Regions from separate parts of the Homo sapiens genome. Here region 1 is linked to region 2. Evidence: promoter capture Hi-C in 16 types of primary human blood cells and fetal thymus (Javierre and others, 2016). All regions are on one chromosome and are shown on one strand. Each heading gives the region's core, a stretch centred on a gene start or on the middle of the fragment in contact. The rest is flanking DNA. Distances are from core to core; before and after follow the strand shown.

Evidence for each region. Contacts are between HindIII fragments. The CHiCAGO score rates a contact against its expected background, and 5 or more counts as called.
Region 1: a contact is called between a fragment that was not itself captured here and the fragment with the promoter of MBD4 in region 2, in 1 of 17 cell types (total B cells). The highest score is 5.7, in total B cells.

Annotation. Positions count from the first base shown.
Region 1 is chr3:128,795,365-128,800,075 of GRCh38, reverse strand. RAB7A (RAB7A, member RAS oncogene family) reads right to left here. Exons shown (of 6, transcript NM_004637.6): 2 at 4,656-4,711; 3 at 2,007-2,133. The coding sequence starts at 4,708. It also overlaps the pseudogene RPS15AP16. Among named protein-coding and RNA genes, the nearest start is that of MIR12124, 49 kb to the left of the region's middle. The HindIII fragment of the contact is 2,076 bases long and covers 385-2,460 here.
Region 2 is chr3:129,437,540-129,442,131 of GRCh38, reverse strand. MBD4 (methyl-CpG binding domain 4, DNA glycosylase) reads left to right here and starts at 2,184. Exons shown (of 8, transcript NM_001276270.2): 1 at 2,184-2,402; 2 at 4,182-4,412. The coding sequence starts at 2,299. It overlaps IFT122 (intraflagellar transport 122), which reads right to left and starts at 1,908. Exons shown (of 30, transcript NM_052989.3): 1 at 1,761-1,908. The coding sequence starts at 1,801. RefSeq lists enhancers at 905-954, 1,355-1,404, 1,435-1,484, 1,635-1,844, 2,045-2,184 and 1 more. The HindIII fragment of the contact is 2,558 bases long and covers 1,451-4,008 here.

The DNA.
Region 1 (4,711 bases), core at 173-2,672, 640 kb after region 2:
CAGTTTAACTGTTCCTTTAGCTTATTTCAATACTATGTTTTCACTTCTTGAAGTTCTAAGTTTTCCATATCCTCATTTTTTTATAGTATCCCTTTCCATTATGGTTTCTATTTCTTTTTAGAACATCTCTAGTCATTGTGAACATCTCTTGTGGTACATTATTTCCTCATGTGGTTATGAACTCATCTTCTCTCCTGCGGTACTAAATGTCCCTACAGAGTGGTCTTACCCTTGTTTTTGCCAGGAATGACAGGGATTTATGTTAAATCCTTTGAGACAAAGATTTCTGTACATGTGGAGAGTGGGACTGAGAATCTCCAACAACTGCAGACACAAGCTTTGCCAATTTCTTGGGCCAAGGTTTTCCAGTTCTACTCTCAAGCTTGACTTGCTTAAACTGTAGTTACATTTTGAAGATCTCTAGGTGTATGTGTGTAGGTGAGGTGAGGATGAGAGATTCATACCAGCTCTGTCCTAGAAGTGTGAGTCAATTAAGAGTCCTGATCCTCTAGGAGCATGCCATGGCTCGAGGTCAACACGTGCACAAATTTCTACCTTTAACCTACATCATTCACACATTTCAGCAAGCCCCCACTATTTGCCAGGTACTTTCTAGGACTATAATGGGATTAGAATTGTATTTGCCTCTAGAAGCACATAGGAAAGAACAACTGCCATGGAGATAGAAGTTTCCAAAGATCTGAGCTAAAAGTTGGAGACTTCAGGTGGGTATACAGGCCCTGCTGGAAGCAGAGACATATCCACCAACACAAGTCTGTAAGAGCAGCACATGATTCGGAATGACTGGAACGAGACAAAAAAAAAAAAAGTGAGTAACAGCTATTTCCACCATCTTTTCTTGCCTCCGTAATGCATGAACGTCTTGGCTGATGCTCTCAAGGGCAAACACCAGGTTCTTATTAGGCTGTGCTCCCAAGTCATGGTCTGGTTCTAAGTGTGAAGATGAAACATGATCACATTGAAAATTTGAAATCACTGGTCATCACAGAGCTGGGAAAATTACTGTAAACCTCACAGGCAGGTTAAAACTGCCCCTGGAATGATTGGCCCCAGATGTGATGTGCAACTCAAAGATCTAGAAAAATGACAGGATAATCTACTCCTATCCCAATAGTTTGGTTTCAAAGTGAGGTTGTACTGACAACCTCAGCTGGCATCATGGACCATGAAGAAAGAGATGAAAATACAGGAGGGAAAATCCTGGGATTCTTTTTTTTTTTTTTTTTTTTTTTTAAATTTAGAGACAGGGTCTCACTCCATCACCCAGGCTGGAGTATAATGGAGCAGTCACAGCTCACTGCAGGCTCAAACTCCTGGGCTCAAGGTATCCATCCTTCAGGGGTTTCTTTTCTAGGGATGTTAATACATGTATACAAACAAAATGACTCAATGGGGGAAAAAAAGGGAATAATAGTTTATAGCCAGAATGTGAAGGCTTTTCAACAAGTCATATGAAAGAATCTGTATCTTATCCTAACTGTTGAAAGGGAACCCTTGAAAGATTAATAAGCTGATACATAAAAAAAAGATTGGCTCAATAGACACACAACTCTTGAAGTTACGTATGAAATAGGAAGTCAGAAAAATAAAGTTTATGTCTCACTACTGAGGTGAGACAAAGATGTTTACCTAAAGCACTGGGCAAGGATGTCAAGAGAGGCACAAGACAGAGACCTGCAGGTTGCCAAATTTAGCAAACAACAAAACCAAAAACAACAAAAAACAAGAAAGGATAAATCTGAGTTTTTTTTTAAGAAGAATTTTTTAGTGTGTCTTAGCAAGTCGTATCTGAGATACACTAGAAGTATACTAAAAAAGTATTCACTATTGATCTGAAATTCAAATTTAACTGAGTATCAGCCAATTATCTACAAATAAGATAATAAGATTTGAAGAACAGGGAAGGAAAATGTCTATGCATGAGGAAAGATTAAGACTAAATGAACTATCAAGGCCTGGTCAGCACAGCCAAGACATGTGCTTACCTGCATTGTGACTAGCCTGTCATCCACCATCACCTCCTTGGTCAGAAAGTCAGCTCCTATTGTGGCTTTGTACTGATTGCTGAATTTCTTATTCACATACTGGTTCATGAGTGATGTCTTCCCGACTCTGAAATTGGAGAAAAACCATAAGTATAAGTCAAATAGGAGGGTCCTGAAACTGACACGAATTACTTGAAGCATTTAAAAGAATCTGCCTGACCTGAAGGACAAGAAACTGCCCTCACAGCAAAGGGCAATGCCAGTAGCCTTCCGAGCATTACACTTTTGAAGTTTTGTGTTTTCTCTCTGGGTAAAAATATAGGGTACAGATGTGGGGCAGATGTGGAAAAGCTGCTTACATGTTTTGGCACAGCCAGGTCAAATGGTAGAGCCTAGTATTATTTTTTCCATTCTAGAAGGATGCCAGCAAATATACTGCTTTCTAAAAGAAGCTTCACTATTAAGACTGTTCTGCTATTCCAACAGTATCCCTGCTATCTTAGATGTTTCTCCATTTAGTGGCTGCTATTTAGCTTGATGAAGTAACACCAGGAGGAAGACCTTGGCTTTCAGCAGACACACACCACTCAGACAATTTGCTGCTTTAAAGTTTAAAATCTGAAGCAGAAAAAGCACCAATATATCACCAAAACAAATCCACCTCAAAGAATGCTCCTCCAAATATGTTTTCTAGTAAGAAAACTCAGCAAGAGACAATGTGTGATTTTTGTGTGATAAGGTTAAGGTAACCTAAAGCTAATACAAAAACCTTCCCCCCCATAGCCAGTGATATCACCTTTCTTGGCCACAAAGGAACATGTTCATATTTGTGTTAAAGAACCTGGAGGTACCTAGACAGCCGAAGGCAGTGTTTTCCAACCCAGACCATCTAAGCCAGAATCTACAAGGTGAGAGGTGGCAAAACCTGGAATCGAACAAGGGCTTGGTGAGACTTTTTGCACAAGTTTGGGGAAGGCAGGCCTAAAAGCACTATCTTTCCATCCCGACGGGGATGGAGTTGCGGGGTAGGAGAGAGAGCACAAATCTAGGCCCTAGCCCACTGGTCTGGGGCTGGGCAAATGCTAGCGAACAAAAGGTTCTTCAAAGGCTGGGCATGGTGGCTCAAGCCTGTAATCTCAGCACTTTGGGAGGTCGAGACGAGTGGACTGCTTGAGCCCAGGAGTTTGAGACCAGCCTGGGCAACATGGTAGAACCCTGTCTCTATAAAAAATACAAAAATTTAACCAGGAGTGGTAGCACACACTGGTGGTCCCAGCTACTCTGGAGGCTGAGGTGGGAGGATGGCTTAAGACCAGGAGGTTGAGGCTGCAGTGAGCTGTGATTGCACCATTCACTTTAGTCTGGGCAACAGAGCGAGACCCTGTCTCTCACACACATACAAAAAAAGGTTCTGCAGGTGATTCAAATAAGCCAGTCAAGACAGAAAAACCTCTGGCTTTTCAAAGGAAGGGCAGGGGACTTTGGAATAAAGAAGCATACCTGCATTTGCTATTGTTGTTATTTTTAAAAATACATAAGCTTCCAATGAGTCAAAGCTTTCATGGGTCCCTTCAGATGCCAAGTCTGAAAAGCCTACCACAGAATCTTTTTATTTTAAGAGTTGGGGTCTTGCTCTGTCACTCGGGCTGCAGTGCAACGGCATGATCATAGCTTGCTACAGCCTCAAACTCCTGGGCTCAAGCCATCCTCTCGCCTCGGCCTCCCCAGCAGCTGGAACTACAGGTACGGCACCTGGCTAAATTTTTTTTGTAGAGACAGGTCTCCAACTCCTGGGCTCAAGCAATCCTCCCCTCAGCCTCCAAAGCACTGGGATTATGGGCATAAGCCACCTCACCCAACCTACCACAGAATCTTAAGAGCCATTAGAGTTAGCTACATGGTTAGTGGCACATCTAGAATCAGAACCCAGTTCTGCCGTCCCAGGCTCTTTTGCAGATAGATCTGAAGCAGGCACAGCAGCAGGAGGATACTGTATGGTGCACTAAGAACGCACATCTGGGTCGGGCGCGGTGGCTCACGCCTGTAATCCCAGCACTTTGGGAGGCCGAGGCAGGCGGATCACGAGGTCAGGAGATCAAGACCATCCTGGCTAACACGGTGAAACCCCATCTCTACCAAAAATACAAAAAACTAGCCGGGCGTGGTGGCGGGCGCCTGTAGTCCCAGCTCCTCGGGAGGCTGAGGCAGGAGAATGGCGTGAATCCGGGAGGCGGAGCTTGCAGTGAGCCGAGATCGCGCCACTGCACTCCAGCCTGGGCGACAGAGCGAGACTCTGTCTCCAAAAAAAAAAAAAAAAAGCACATCTGCTACGCCAGATGCCAATGGCAATACATCTACGTAAGGAAGACTCCCCAGCCTGGCCAGCTTGGAGAAAAGGGATTCCATGAAAATGCCTATCCTTAGTTGAGTTCAAATAGCCATCCGTTCCCCATAAAAAATCATGCTAAAAACTAGAGAACAAAAGGTTATATAACAAGGGATCATCTAAATTTCTGCCGTGGAGGGAAACATGTAAGGCCCTAAGCCTCACTATGAAAGCAAGAAGTGGCAGCACGGACAGTGTGGGCTCCACAGCAGAGAGGCTTAGCTCTAAGCCAATCTGTTAGCTCAAATTCATGAGTAACTTACCCAGAATCTCCCAGGATGATAACCTTCAGCAACACTTTCTTCCTAGAGGTCATCCT
Region 2 (4,592 bases), core at 935-3,434:
TTTATTTGGCCCACACGGTGTTTTGTTTTTTTTTCAGAGTGGATGCTAACATTTAAAAATTAGGCCATTTCACATAAAAACCCAGATTCCTAGCTTCTGGTAAAAACAGGAAGAGCTGAGCACACTAGGCCAAATTCCTGCATGGTGGTAATTGGCAGGAGCTGAGCAGCAGCTGCCCCTTTTAGGCCGAGCATGAGCTCTGCAGTTTGCCACACTCTATTACTCTGACATTGAAGCCAAATGTTCAGTTGCCAGCTATCATCAGCTTGTGCTATAGGTACGTTTATAATAAAGTTAAAAGTAAAATGATTTTTTAAAACTCAAATCTCTATTAAAAGTACAAATGAAAGATTCACTGATACGGCTGTGTTTCAAGAAAAATGGGGTACAGAATACAAGACTATTCCTAGGGAAAACATACAATTCCTAGTGTTGAAGATGCAAATAAACATCTCCCATTTATGTTACCTGCCTGTCTCCTGCAGACATTTGAGTTTGCCACGTCTGTAACATAAGGAAAAATTAATGTAGTGGCTGAGAGCGTTGACGTTGGAGTGAGGAAGACCTGAGCTTGAAAGCTGGTTCCACCCCTCACTGTGTGACGCTGGCAAATTATCCACCCTCTCTGGGCTTCAGTTTCCTCATACATAAAATAGAGGAAATTATAGTACCTACCTTAGAGAGTGGTGAAGACACAACGAGATAAAGGATATGAAGTGCTTAGCCAGCACCTGGCACATAGTGTCAGCTACCACTAGTGCCGAACACAAAAGAGAGGACCCGTCTCCAACGTGAGCCTTGAAGGATGTTCAGGATTTCCGTGTGAGATGAGGAGAGACGGCATGCTTTACACAGAGAAAGATCTCAGAAGGGACAGAACCAAAGACAAGTAACCTGCTCCAGTGGCCAGAACAGAGGCTTCACAACAATGCTGAATGATTTTCAAAGTCAGGCCAAGACCTATCCCATAAGTAAGAATATGACAAAACAGACTGCTATGTTATAGATTTAGGCGATAACAATGGAATAGGACATTAAATAACTGAATCAAAAGGTGACAAAGTCATTCCCCTTCAGTTCTTTTTCAGACTTCCCAATTAGGAGAGCTTGTGTTTGGTGCTCATTTTGAGCACCTTTCTGATCATACCTGCCCATCTCCAGTTTTAGAGAAACGAGATCTCAGGTTTAAAGGCTCCCTAGCAACAATAGCTAGCTACAGCTTGTTCAGTTTTGTTTCTCCCTACTTTAAGTTTTACTTTTACACTTAGAGCAAGCGACGCTGATTTTATCTTAACATTTAGAGCAAGTGACACTGGTTTTCATAAATGGAGTAATAAAGTTTCCTTGTAAAATGTGAAATCATAATTAAAATAAATGAGACAATTTAGAGAAAAACGTCAAGAAAACAAGAGTATGGGTACTATGTGGATGTGGCAAGAACTGTGAAGCTTGAGCAGCTTCGTGCTGTCTCGTGGGTGTGAGATGAATCCAAGGCAGCGACAGGGCCAGACCGTGAGGGAAGAGCCGCCTCCACCCGCCACCACCTCAGGCGCGGCACCTCCCTTTGCCGCTCTCCAACCCTCGGGAGTTTCTCCAACCGCCAAGGGGCGGGAGGGCGACCCTGCAGTCTCCCAGGCCGGGGTTCAGTGCCCTCGGCCCAGGCAGCAAGCCCGCTGCCCCCCTCAAACACGCTGCAGCGGCTCGCGCACTCCCCGCGAGGACTCGACCTCCTGCTCTTCGCGAACCGCCCCGCTCCTCACCAGTGCTCGGCTTTATCTCTCCACGTCAACACGGCCCTCATCACGGCTTCCCTTACGGCTCGGGCTCCTCCTACCCGCCTCAGCGTCTGTCTCAGCAACCGCCTCACTAACGGTCGCCACTCCACAAGCCACTTTGGCTACCTGCGTTACCCCTGGCAACGTACATGCGCGGTAAGCTGAGTGCGAGGGCGCCTTGCTCCGAGCGCGCATGTCCGAAAGGGAAAGCCAGAAAAGCAGCAAAAGCAATGGTGGCACTGGAGCCCCTAAGGCGCCAGCGCAACCAGAGCGCGAGCGATTGGTCGGGGCGTGTGGGGGCGGTGCGTCTTCCTCGAGAATGGATTTGATTGGTGGAGCGTGGAAATGGCGGCTGTAGCCGAGGGGGCGGCCGGAAAGCAGCGGCGGCGTCTGGGGCGCTTTCGCAACATTCAGACCTCGGTTGCAGCCCGGTGCCGTGAGCTGAAGAGGTTTCACATCTTACTCCGCCCCACACCCTGGGCGTTGCGGCGCTGGGCTCGTTGCTGCAGCCGGACCCTGCTCGATGGGCACGACTGGGCTGGAGAGTCTGAGTCTGGGGGACCGCGGAGCTGCCCCCACCGTCACCTCTAGTGAGCGCCTAGTCCCAGACCCGCCGAATGACCTCCGGTAAGTTACTGTCCCCTTTTGGGCCTCAGTTTCACCACCTGTAAAATGGTATCGGGAGAGTGGACAGTGTGTGGGCCTTTCTAACCTTTGACAGAGGGTCGGCAGAAACCTCGAAGCCCACGGGTTTAGTTACTAGGGTCTGGAGCCCAGGTGCTCTTCCTGTGCGATCAGCCCTGGGGTGCGCTCGACTTCCTCATCTAAGATGACTAGGGAGACTGGGGGGGAGCCGGGAGGTTTTGTGAAAGAGGTCCCCTTGGGGTTGGAGGATCCTAGGAAGTCATTAGACTACGTGTGTGATAGGAGGTTAAGATTTACCTACTTTTTTCAAAATTTAATACTAAGAACTACTTTGAAAGAGGCATCACCTTCTTTTTACAGAGTCTTTTACCGAGACTTTGAGATGTTAAGTAACTTGCTGCTAAACTTACAGCTGGTAGAGCTGGAATTTGAGCCCCAGTCTCTTAAGAGTTTGTGCTGATTCCACCAGGCTTCAGTATTTTTATCTCTAAAATTGTAAACAATATCATTTCATAAGATCCATCCAGCTCCTCAAAATTATTTTACCCCAAATTACATCAGAAAACCTTGATTCTAATTCTAGTTCTTGCAGTTTCCCTATTTGTAGAAAAGAACTTGGGTTAAATGATCTCTCTAGACCCATCCACCTTTTACAATCTGTGGTTTAGTGATTAGGATACACTTTACTGAAATTTTTTTTTTAATTTTAAAAGTATGTTTTCATCATAGAAGACACATTGGAACTTTAATGAAGTTTTAGTTTAGTGGGTTTTTTTTTGAGATGAGGTCTCGCTCTGTCACCCAGGCTGGAGTGCAGTGGCACAATCATAGCTCCCTGAAGCCTTGACCTGCCGGACTTAAGCAGTCCTCCTACCCCGGCCTCCTTAGTAGCTGGGACCACAGGTATGCTCCACCACGCCCGGTTGCTTGTTTTTTTTTGTTTTTTTGGGTTTTTTTTTTCATTTTTTGCAAAGACGAGGATCTCACTGTGCTCTCCAGGCTGGTCTCAAACTCTTGGGATCAGGTGATCTTCCCACTTCCTCCTCCCAAAGTGCTAGCATTACAGGAATGAGCCACCTTGCCTTGCCAGCTTTTTTCAATAACAGTATGGGGGAGAAGTATTAGACCAAGATTTGGTAGACTTGGGTTCTCGTGTCTGTTCTGCAAGTAATTTAACCTGTCACTCAATTTTATCAATAAATTGAGAGTAAACCTTATTGTACCTACAAGGTTACCATGAGGATCAAGAATGAAGAAGATTCAAAAATTCTGTATCAAATTATTTACCTTCTGGAGGATTACATCTGATGAAAGTGATACACACTCTCTCCCAGAAATTTTACATTATGTAAAACTTTTACCTCATTTATTTGCAGAGAAGACAGTGTAACTCACTGATTTATTTAAGCATTTTCTGGTGCTTAAGAGCTTAGCTATTGGTTCATATTCTCAAATTTATGGTAAGTGCCCCCAGAAATCTTTATAATAGCCCTACTCAGTGATTAATCCGAAAAGTTTCTAGCTTGACTTTTTTGTTGTGCAGAGATTTCCAACACCTTTTAACCTGTGCTAGAGGATATGGGAAGCTTTTGGAAGACAGGAAAATACTCCCATAGCACAAGACTGGTCCACACTGACTTTAATCTCCCTCATTTTAATATGGATAATCTATGTGGTTCCTGCATTGTCATGGATTAAAACTGAGTAGGCAGTGGAAGATAAATTTTAAATAAGTTAATCACTTAGACTTTGTTTTTCCAGCAAAGAAGATGTTGCTATGGAATTGGAAAGAGTGGGAGAAGATGAGGAACAAATGATGATAAAAAGAAGCAGTGAATGTAATCCCTTGCTACAAGAACCCATCGCTTCTGCTCAGTTTGGTGCTACTGCAGGAACAGAATGCCGTAAGTCTGTCCCATGTGGATGGGAAAGAGTTGTGAAGCAAAGGTTATTTGGGAAGACAGCAGGAAGATTTGATGTGTACTTTATCAGGTAAGCATATAAGATGGTAAAGATAGTACAGCCAAATGATTTTGTCTGGGCAGGTAGTGGGAGCATAGCAGGAATCTTAGCTTCTTTATATTTTTACCATAAAACCATTGCAGATTCTATTCTTTCAATGTTGCTATTAATTACATCAAGTGATTTGGGGAAAATTACATACATTTTGTC